Regions from separate parts of the Homo sapiens genome. Here region 2 is linked to region 1. Evidence: promoter capture Hi-C in 16 types of primary human blood cells and fetal thymus (Javierre and others, 2016). All regions are on one chromosome and are shown on one strand. Each heading gives the region's core, a stretch centred on a gene start or on the middle of the fragment in contact. The rest is flanking DNA. Distances are from core to core; before and after follow the strand shown.

Evidence for each region. Contacts are between HindIII fragments. The CHiCAGO score rates a contact against its expected background, and 5 or more counts as called.
Region 2: the fragment with the promoter of H1-8 here is called in contact with the fragment with the promoter of EFCAB12 in region 1 in 3 of 17 cell types (M1 macrophages, M0 macrophages and endothelial precursors); the score reaches 9.0 in M1 macrophages.

What each region holds. Positions count from the first base shown.
Region 1 is chr3:129,425,919-129,430,824 of GRCh38, reverse strand. EFCAB12 (EF-hand calcium binding domain 12) reads left to right here and starts at 2,189. Exons shown (of 9, transcript NM_207307.3): 1 at 2,189-2,385. The coding sequence starts at 2,337. RefSeq lists a silencer at 2,003-2,052. The HindIII fragment of the contact is 3,479 bases long and covers 1-2,858 here.
Region 2 is chr3:129,540,732-129,545,165 of GRCh38, reverse strand. H1-8 (H1.8 linker histone) reads right to left here and starts at 1,991. Exons shown (of 5, transcript NM_153833.3): 1 at 1,860-1,991. The coding sequence starts at 1,947. RefSeq lists an enhancer at 1,951-2,452. The HindIII fragment of the contact is 913 bases long and covers 1,256-2,168 here.

The sequences.
Region 1 (4,906 bases), core at 940-3,439:
TCACTCACTCTTTTACCTTGGTCCCTTTGTGAAAACTCATTTCTCATCTTCCATTTGGAGTTTATACCATTTGGCCAGGCACAGTGGCTTACACCTGTAATCCTAGCACTTTGGGAGGCTGAGGCAGGAGGATTGCTTGAGCCCAGGAGTTCAAAACCAGACTGGGCAACATAATGAGACCCCGTCTCTACAAAAAATTTTAAAAATTAATTGGGCATGGTGACATACACTTGTGGTCCCAGCTACTCAGAAGGCTGAGGTGGGAGAATCCCTTGAGCCCAGGAGATTGAGGCTGCAGTGAGCTATGATCACACCACTGCACTTCAGCCTGGATGACACAGCAAGACCCTGTCTTAAAAAAAATAAGTCTTAATGCCATTTTTATTACAAGTATTGTTACAGTTCAAATACCAAAGCATTTACTATTAGAAAGAAACCAAGGGAAAAAACTAGTTACTATGTCTTAATTACCAACTACCATTTTAAGGTATAATTTGAAAATTAAATTGATTGAATAAATGAAAAATAAATCAGTTGTTCAGGAAACTGCCTTTGTTGTAGGGCAGTGTGAACCGAATCAGGCTGCAGTGTGATGCAGAGGTAGTTGGTTGTTTCCACTTTAGTGAGTGTCAGTTTTTAGAAGGATAGATTTTGACCAGAGAACAGGAAAACTGGCCACACCTCCCTCTCCCCAAGGCAAACCCACTTTATAGTTTACCATCACATTTTCATTTAACAAACATCCAAGTAGCATTCACAAAGTGTAAAGCCCTGTGGTGGGGAGGGGCACAAAGATAAACAAGTTCTGTACAGACCCTCACAGAGAGAAAGAAGGGCACCTAATAATGGAAGGGAACAAAAGCGGTAAGGAGTAGGGACAAGACACCCAAAGAGGGTGGAGAGGGGCCTCTGAAACCTTGGGCCCAGCTGGGCCTGGAGGGTGGGGCGAGCTCACCAAGCTCAGGGCATCAGGTGTGGCTTTGTGGTAGGGCTGGTGGTCACATACCTTCCCCCAGCATCTCCATGGGGAGTGTGGGCCCGTGTGAATGCAGGAGGCGAGCTCTGCACCAGGGGAGCTCAGGACACAGCCAGGTTGCTCAGGCTCTAGGCCTGGCTTTTCCTGTTTCTTGCAGGTGAGGTTGCCTGACCTCTGTACCTGTTAACTTGTCTTTTAAAAATGGGATAGTGGTGTCTACCTCACACAATGATGGTAATTATGAAGTTCAGACATGTAGTGCTAAAATGGTACCTGGCTTGCAAGAGTGCTGTGTGAATGTGGCCCATGGCAACAATCTGTTTGCAAGCGTCACAAAGATAGCTTGTCTCAGCAAAGGAATAAGGGCTTAGGTGTTTCTCTTTAACTTTTTAAAAATTGAGCTAAAAGCCACCATTTAACCATTTTAAAGTGTACAGTTCAGTGGTTTAGTACATTTACAGTGTGCAGCCATCATCACTAATTCCAGAAGTTTCCATTTCTTTTTTCCACTCCAAAAAGAATCTCTCCACCTGTTAGCAGTCACTTCAATTACTCACCCCATCCCCTAGCAACCATTCATCTACTTTCCGTGTCTGTGGGTTCGTCTATGCTGAACATTTCACATAAATGGAATCATACAGCACGTGGCCTTTTGTGTCTAGCTTCTTGCTTAGCATACTGTTTTGAAGGTTTATCCATATTGTAGCATGTACTTCATTCCTTCTTATGGCCATCCTATGGATATACCTCATTTTGCTTATCAGTTGATGCACATTTCAAGGGTTTATTATTATTCTCTGGTCCTCAGGTTCTGTAACTCCAAACCATGGCACCCTGCCATAAGCGGGGCAGAACATACCCAACACCTCTATCTGGCCACAGCTCACTTTGGTTCTTCCTAACCCTCTGGAGGAGGCAGGGCCTATTTTTCCTATGAGAAAACTGAGGCCTAGAGATATGGAGACCTGCGGAAGATCCCACATTTCACGGGAAAACCGGAGACTTTCTACACTGGATTCAGGGACTACTGGGCCGAACAAAGAAATCCCGCCTTTCACCAAGCCCAGAACTGGGCGGGGCGTGGATTTGCTCGCTGCCCCTCCCAGAATTGGACGAAAACGAGGTGGGGCCAGCAGGCGCTCGGCAGGGCGGGCTCGCTCTTAACACGTGACAGCGCTCAGCCAATTGGCGCGGGGCGTCCGTAGCCACGGCAACAGGTTGCTTCTGCAGTCTGAGCTGAGCGCCTTTCGCACGACTTGGAGTTACGGTTTATCTGATACCCCGGTACCCCTACGCAAGCAAGCCCACATCGACACACATTCACACACGCCCTTCAGCACCCCCTCCCAGCACCACGACCATGGACGACGACTATGAAGCGTACCACAGTCTGTTCTTGTCGCTGCTCGGTAAGCCCCGGGAAGAAGCGTCTGCAGGGAGCGCTCAGCGCCCTAAGGACGCGTGAAAGTGGGGTGAGGGCAAAAACTCAGCCACAGATATTGTGCCGACCCCCTCTGGGTGAAGGGTTGCCATGGAGTCGGGGGCAGGTCATGTACATTTCTGAGATTTCTATCTGAGCCTAGTTGGAGGAACCAGAGGCCCGACCCATGTGACGGGAGCCCTCCAGCTCGCCCTGTTTCTCTGCAGGACATTAATGTATTCAGTACTGGAGGAGAGGCATGGAGAAGACGTCAGTCTTCAAGGTTTTGGCAGTAATGTGCTGGGGACCAAGTTCTTGGCAAAGCAATGCAGCTTCACGGGTAAAGGACAGAGATAAATGGATAATTACAGAATAAGAAGGGGTAAATGCCGGGCCCAGGGATGACACCCAGGAGTAAAAGGTGTGCTGAGGGTATGGGATGGGGAGGAACAGTTCCAAGCTTTTGGAAAAGATCTTTACACTGGAGCTTAAAGGATAAAAAGGAGTTCTCCAAGCCAAAAGGGGAAGGAAAAGCATTTCGGGCAAGGAAACAGCATGACCCAAGAGGTCTGGTGTCTCTGGAAATGAGGTGAGAGAGGTCAGAAGGGACAAGATCATAAAAGATACTGCAAGCCAGGAGATGGAGAGGCCACTGGGAGTGGCAGGACTGGATTGGGAGCAGTCAGAAAAGACCTGAGACTGAGTTGGCAGACTCAGAATGTTGGTGTGGGGAGATGAGAGCTGGGGGCTATAAAGCTTGAAGACTGAAGGTCTTCTCCATGCCGCTTCTCCAGCACTGAACACATTAATGCCCAGTGGAGAAACAGGGAGAGCTGGAGAGGCTGGCCACCTTTCCCAGGCACACAGGTCAGGGCTCTGGTCAAATGCCCAAGCTAAAGATGCTGGGAGGTGAGGGAGAAGGCCCAGGCTAGAGGGAACTACGGGACTTGGGGGCTGGTTGGTCAGGAAACACAGAAGAGGCAAATAAAGATGGTTCTCAAGTTGGCAGCTGGGGGACCTGGTAGATGGAGATGTCTTCCACAGAGATAAGAGAACGTACTCAGAGGACCCAGTTAGTGGGGGAAGGGGCACAAAGACAAATCCAGTCTTGGTTGGTTGAGTTTAAGATCCTTGTCAGTAGCTGGGCACAGTATCTCACGCCTGTAATCCCAGCACTATGGGAAGCTGAGGCAGGAGGATTGCTTGAGCCCAGGAGTTTGAGAATAGCCTGGGCAACATAGTGAGATCCCATCTCTACAAAATTGTTTTTTAAAGTTAGCCAGGCCTGGTGGGGTGGCTCACGCCTGTAATCCCAGCACTTTAGGAGGCTGAGGTGGGTGGATCACGAGGTCAGGAGATCAAGACCATCCTGGCTAACACAATGAAACCCCGTCTCTACTAAAAATACAAAAAATTAGCCGGGCATGGTGGCAGGCGCCTGTAGTCACAGCTACTCAGGAGGCTGAGGCAGGAGAATGGCATGAACCAGGGAGGTGGAGCTTGCAGTGAGCCAAGATCATGCCATTGCACTCCAGCCTGGGTGACAGAGCAAGACACCATCTCAAAAAAAAAAAAAAAAAAAAGGTTAGCTAGGCTTAATGGCATGCACCTGTAGTCCCAGCTACTCAGGAGGCTGAGCTGGGAGGATCATTTGAGCCCAGGAGTTCAAGGCTGCAGTGAGCTATGATTGAGCCACTGTACTCCAGCTTGGGGAACAGAGCAAGACCCTGTCTCAATTAAAAATAAATAATAAAAAAAGATCCCCGGCCGGGCGCCGTGGCTCACGCCTGTAATCCTAGCACTTTGGGAGGCTGAGGTGGGCGGATCACCAGGTCAGGAGATCGAGACCATCCTGGCTAACACAGTGAAACCCCATCTCTACTAAAAATACAAAAAATTAGCCGGTCGTGGTGGCAGACACCTGTAGTCCCAGGTACTCGGGAGGCTGAGGCAGGAGAATGGCGTGAACCCGGGAGGCAGAGCTTGCAGAGAGCCGAGATCGTGCCACTGCACTTTAGCCTGGGAAACAGAGCAAGAGTCCGTCTCAAAAAAAAAAAAAAAAAAAAAAACAAAAAAAAACCCTGTAAGCCATCCAAGTGGAGATGTTTTAGGAACAACTGGAGGTATAAACTTGGAGCTAATTCCAAGTCAAAAATATTGGTATGGATGTCCCCAGCATACAGAAGGTCATAGAAACATGAGAATGGAAGGGATTATTTAAAAAGAGAAGAGACCCTGGGTATAAGCCTGGAAGCAACAACCTTTAAGGAGTAATCAGGAAAAGAGGGGCCCAAAAACAATAGCCGGAGAGGTAGAATTGGACATAGCAAGAGATTGAATCAAGCCAAGAGCAGGGAGAATTTCAAGAAAGAGTAGAATTGTTTCCAGACACCTATAGGCTGTCTGAGAAAAGAGAGAACAAGTGTGTTTTCTGGGACATCCATGGGGAGGACTAGAACCAAAGGGTAGAAAGTCCAGGGAAACAAATTCTGGGTCAATATAAGGAAATA
Region 2 (4,434 bases), core at 742-3,241, 110 kb before region 1:
TTGCTTGAGCCTGGGAAGTGGAGACTGCAGTGAGCTGAGATCACACCACTGCACTCCAGCCTGGGTGACAAAGCAAGACCCTGTCTCAAAAAAAAAAAAAAAATTGGCTATATTAAAATTTTTTTTCAATAGAAAAAAAAAACCATGAAACTCTAGATCTAGAGCAAAATTATAAAGAGACCTAATCACTTCGACCCCTGTTGGGTCCTGGCCATGACGAGCCCAGTGTGGGAATATTCATTTGGGGGCCAAAGGCGTTGAGCTGGTGTAGTCCTGGGTCACTCCCGGGTTCTCGGGAGTTTCATTCTTCCCTCTAGGCCTCAGTCTTCCCATCCGTACAGTGGGGACGGGGGCCTCTAAGGAGGTCTGAGCCCTCCCAGCTGCAGTGCTACAGGGCTTCCCAAGGGTCTTCGCTTGGCCTGACTTCACGAGCAGCTCCAACCCCTCCTCTGCTTCCCCCAGACCATGTCTGTCCCAGAGAGCCACCCCCAGGAGTCCTCCCTCAGGTCTGTTCCCTCTCATCCCAGCCCCTCATTCGGCAGCTATTCCATGCCTGCTGTATACCAGGATGTCCAGAACAGAGCTCAGCCCCCCAAATCTGCCCCTCCTCTCTCTTCCAGGAATGCCCCATGCCCCCACTGCCCATACCTACCCAACATCCAAGCAAGAACTGGGGGCATTCTGGGCCCTTTCCTCCTCACCACACCCACTCGAGGCCTCCCCATAGGCTTTTCTCTCCATATTCTGGCCTCTCCTCTCCAACTCCCCAGCCCCAGCCTCCTCCCCACTGCCTCTTCCCCACCGCATGCATTCTCCTCGCTGTATCTCACACCCCTCACCTCCCTGCTTGAAACCGTCCATGGCTCCCTGTTCAAGATAAAAGTTGACCTAACTGAAGACCGCCTTGGAGGCCCTCCCACTGCTCCCCTAGCACTGCCCCAGCACTTCCCTCCTTCCCAGAAGGAAGATGCAGCTTCCGAGACAAGCTGCTGGTGCGCTGGCCTCTGGGCCTTAGCCCATGCCGTTTCCTCTGCCTGGGCTGCCTCTCTCCTCCCGGTCATGCAGGCTGCTCTCACTCATCCTTCAAGGCTCAAAATGCACCTTGGTTTGGACACCTCTGACTTCCCAGTTAACTCTGCCCTTTTACTTCTCGGCACCTGGACCCCCTCCCTATCTCCCTAGGTGTCTTGGCAAATAGAACACTTCCCCCGGCTGAGGCACACCCATCCTTCAGGGTCACCTCTTCTAGGAAGCTTTCCCTGACCTCCCAGAGTGGGTTAGAGGACTCCTCTGGGCTCCTCCAGCTCTGGATTACCGCCACTGAAGCACACATCACATTAGCAAACAGCAACAAGCCATGGGCCAGGCTTCCCCATCAGACCGGGAGGTCCTCGAGGGAGTGAACTGGGCCTGGTTTGCCTCGGTGCACCCTCATGTCCAGATAAACCCTGAGGTGTTTTTTGGTTGAAAATCGGAATGCCTAGCCCTGCATAAAATGCTCCTGCCCCAGTCCCTCCAACTAGCTGCCCACAGCTGCAGCCTGGCTACGGGCTACGGTCCCAGCAGGAAACGGGCTCCAGCTGGAAGGCCCTGTGGCTCTTCCCTGAGCGAGGCCGGCCCCAGCCCCCAGGCCCTACCTGGCCTTGCTACCTGTAGATCAGCTCTTCAGCCAAAAGGCAGTTGAGCTCAGCAGCTTGGTGCTGGGTGGGTGCTGGGTGAGTGCTGGGTGAGTGCTGGGTGGGTGCTGGGTAGGTGCTGGGGCCAGGCTGGGAAAGAACGAGAAGCAGGGGTGGAGCATCAAAGGCAACCCAGGGAGTGGGCTCGCAGGGATGAGGGAGGAGCTGCCTCCTCTTGCTCACCTGGCTTTTCAGATTCAGGAGACCTGGATGATCCTGCTGTGGAAGTCGAGGAGGGTGAGATGTCGCTGGTGACGCTCCCAGGAGCCATGAGACCGACAGGTGCAGCCAGCAGACCCCTCACCCGGGTGTGAGGCTGCTGGGCCTGCCCACTAGGCTTATATACCAGCAGCCCACCCCCACCACTCCAATCAGCCCTGATTGGGCTGGGAGTGCTCCAAGCTGCTGACTGGGGCTGGAGGTGTGGAATGGGGCACAGCATCCTGCCTTCTGTAGGGAGCCCCAGCTGGACTACCCACTCCTGTGTAAGCTTGGGGGTGTCGCTTGACTTCTCTGGGTCTCAGTCCCCATGGTGCAATGTTGGGAGCTGAGATGCTTGATCTCGCCTGTGCCCTCTGCCCACCAGGGGCTGGAGATGCTGATGAGGAATTGGGGTCACCTGTGTTGTCAGGGAGGCCGCTGAGGCGGCCCTCTAATCCTACCAGGTGGGCAATGGGCTGCCCCACGCCACTGCTGGCCTCAATTTCTCAAAAAGTAGCAGTTGGAGGCAGCCCAACTGCTACTTTTGCCCAGAGCACATGCCCCTCAATCAGAGTAGCCCCTTCTGAGGCCAGCCAGGCTCTCTGGGCCTATGCCCTCCTTTGGTTTTGTTTTTAAAGAAATAAATCAATAACGGAGGATGCTTCACAAAAGTCTTCATAGATAAGGACAACATCCACTGGGACAATGGACAAAGAATATAAACAGGCAATTCACCAGCCTAAAGGGTGAGGAACAGAAACAGGAAAATGGACACTCAACTTCCTTGGCATTTGAGAAAATTCAAATTGAAACAATGGTGAAATACTACTTTTTCCCATCAAATTGACAGACAAAAAAAAAAAACTTTCCAAGCAAACACCCAAGGCCTGGCTAAATCACACCCTTTCTGCAGAATATTCTGCAGCCATCTAAAATGACAAGGTGGGCTGGTGCGGTGGCTCAGGCCTGTAATCCTAGCACTTTGGGAGGCTGAGGTGGGCGGATCACCTGAGGTCAGGAGTTTGAGACCAGCCTGGCCAACATGGTAAAACTTCATCTCTACTAAAAATACAAAATTAGCTGGGCGTGGTGGTGTGCACCTGTAGTCCCAGCTACTTGGGAGGCTGAGGCAGGAGAATCACTTGAACCTGGGAGCTGGAGACTGCAGTGAACCAGGATCGAGCCATTGCACTCCAGCCTGGGCAACAAGAGCGAAACTGTGTCTCAAAAATAAGTAAATAAAAATAAAATAAAATAATATAATATAATATAAAATGACAAGATGGATTAAAACAAGGATGAGAGGCCAGGCATGGTGGCTCATACCTGTAATCCCAGAACTTCGGGAGGCTGAGGCAGGAGGATCGCTTGAGCCCAGGAGTTCAAGACCAGCCTAGGCAAAAAAGTGAAATCCTGTCTCTACCAAAAAATACAAAAATTAGCTGGGCATGGTGGTGTGCACCTGTAGTCCCAGCTACCTGGGAGGCCGAGGCAGGAGGATTGCTTGAGCCTGGGAGGTCAAGGCTGCAGGGAGCTGTGATCACACCCCTGCACTCCAGCCTGGGCTACAGAGTAAGACCCTGCCCCCCCCAAAAAAAAGGGGGAGGGAAAGAAAAGAAAACAAACAAGAATGAGGCTGTATTTCACACTCAGCAAAATGACAAAGATGTAAGTGTCTATCAATAGTGAGTGACTAGGATTCAAGGAAAGTATAGCTGCTGGGGGGTGGGGAGTGAGCTGGTAGCCGCCTTAGAAAGCAATTCAGCGATGTTTCATACAACTAAGGAGGGACTCACTCCACAACCCACCTATTCCACTCTAGGCGTAGATCTGAGACAAACATATACACTTACGTGCAAAGATGTTTATTTCAATCTTAGCAGAAATTCAAAACAACATAAATGCCCATCAGGTGGAGAGTGAACAAGTAAACTGTGGCCTATTCGCACAGTGGAGTAGTATGCAGTAGTGAAAAGGAGTGAACCAGAATGTATCGGAGAGTACACCCCAACTACTGAGAAGACAAAACTTGCGTGTGTGTGTGTGTGTGTGTGTGTGTGTGTGAAGGCACAATAGTTCTTTTTAATTTTTAAAAAATTTTTTTGTTTTTTTATCTTACCAGTCACAAGCAGTAGAAAAAAGTTCTGAATGGATTCATACCAAGGTAATAGTAGAAGTGGTTACCTCTGAGGAAGGGATGGGTTTTAAACAGCATACATTCTTCTCTAGGTAGTCTCTTTATTGTGGAATTTTCCCAGAGGGCTCTCCATCACCAGAGATCTGGACTCGGGGAGGCTGTGGTCATCAAAGTGTTCTAAAGTGAAGTCAGATTTCACTCCCCCGCTTAGCATCCTGCATGGCTCCCCACTGCCCGTGGGTGAAAGTTCATGCTCTTCAGTCTGACTTAAGGAGCCTCCTCCCCGCTTGAATCCCACAATTCACCCACACTGCGGCTCCTGGAATGGGCCATGTGCTGATATCGGGCCCCTTTTGTCTCCTCTGTGTGTGTTGAATTGATGCAGAACTGCCCCCAATTTTTCACTCCTGCCCATTTGCA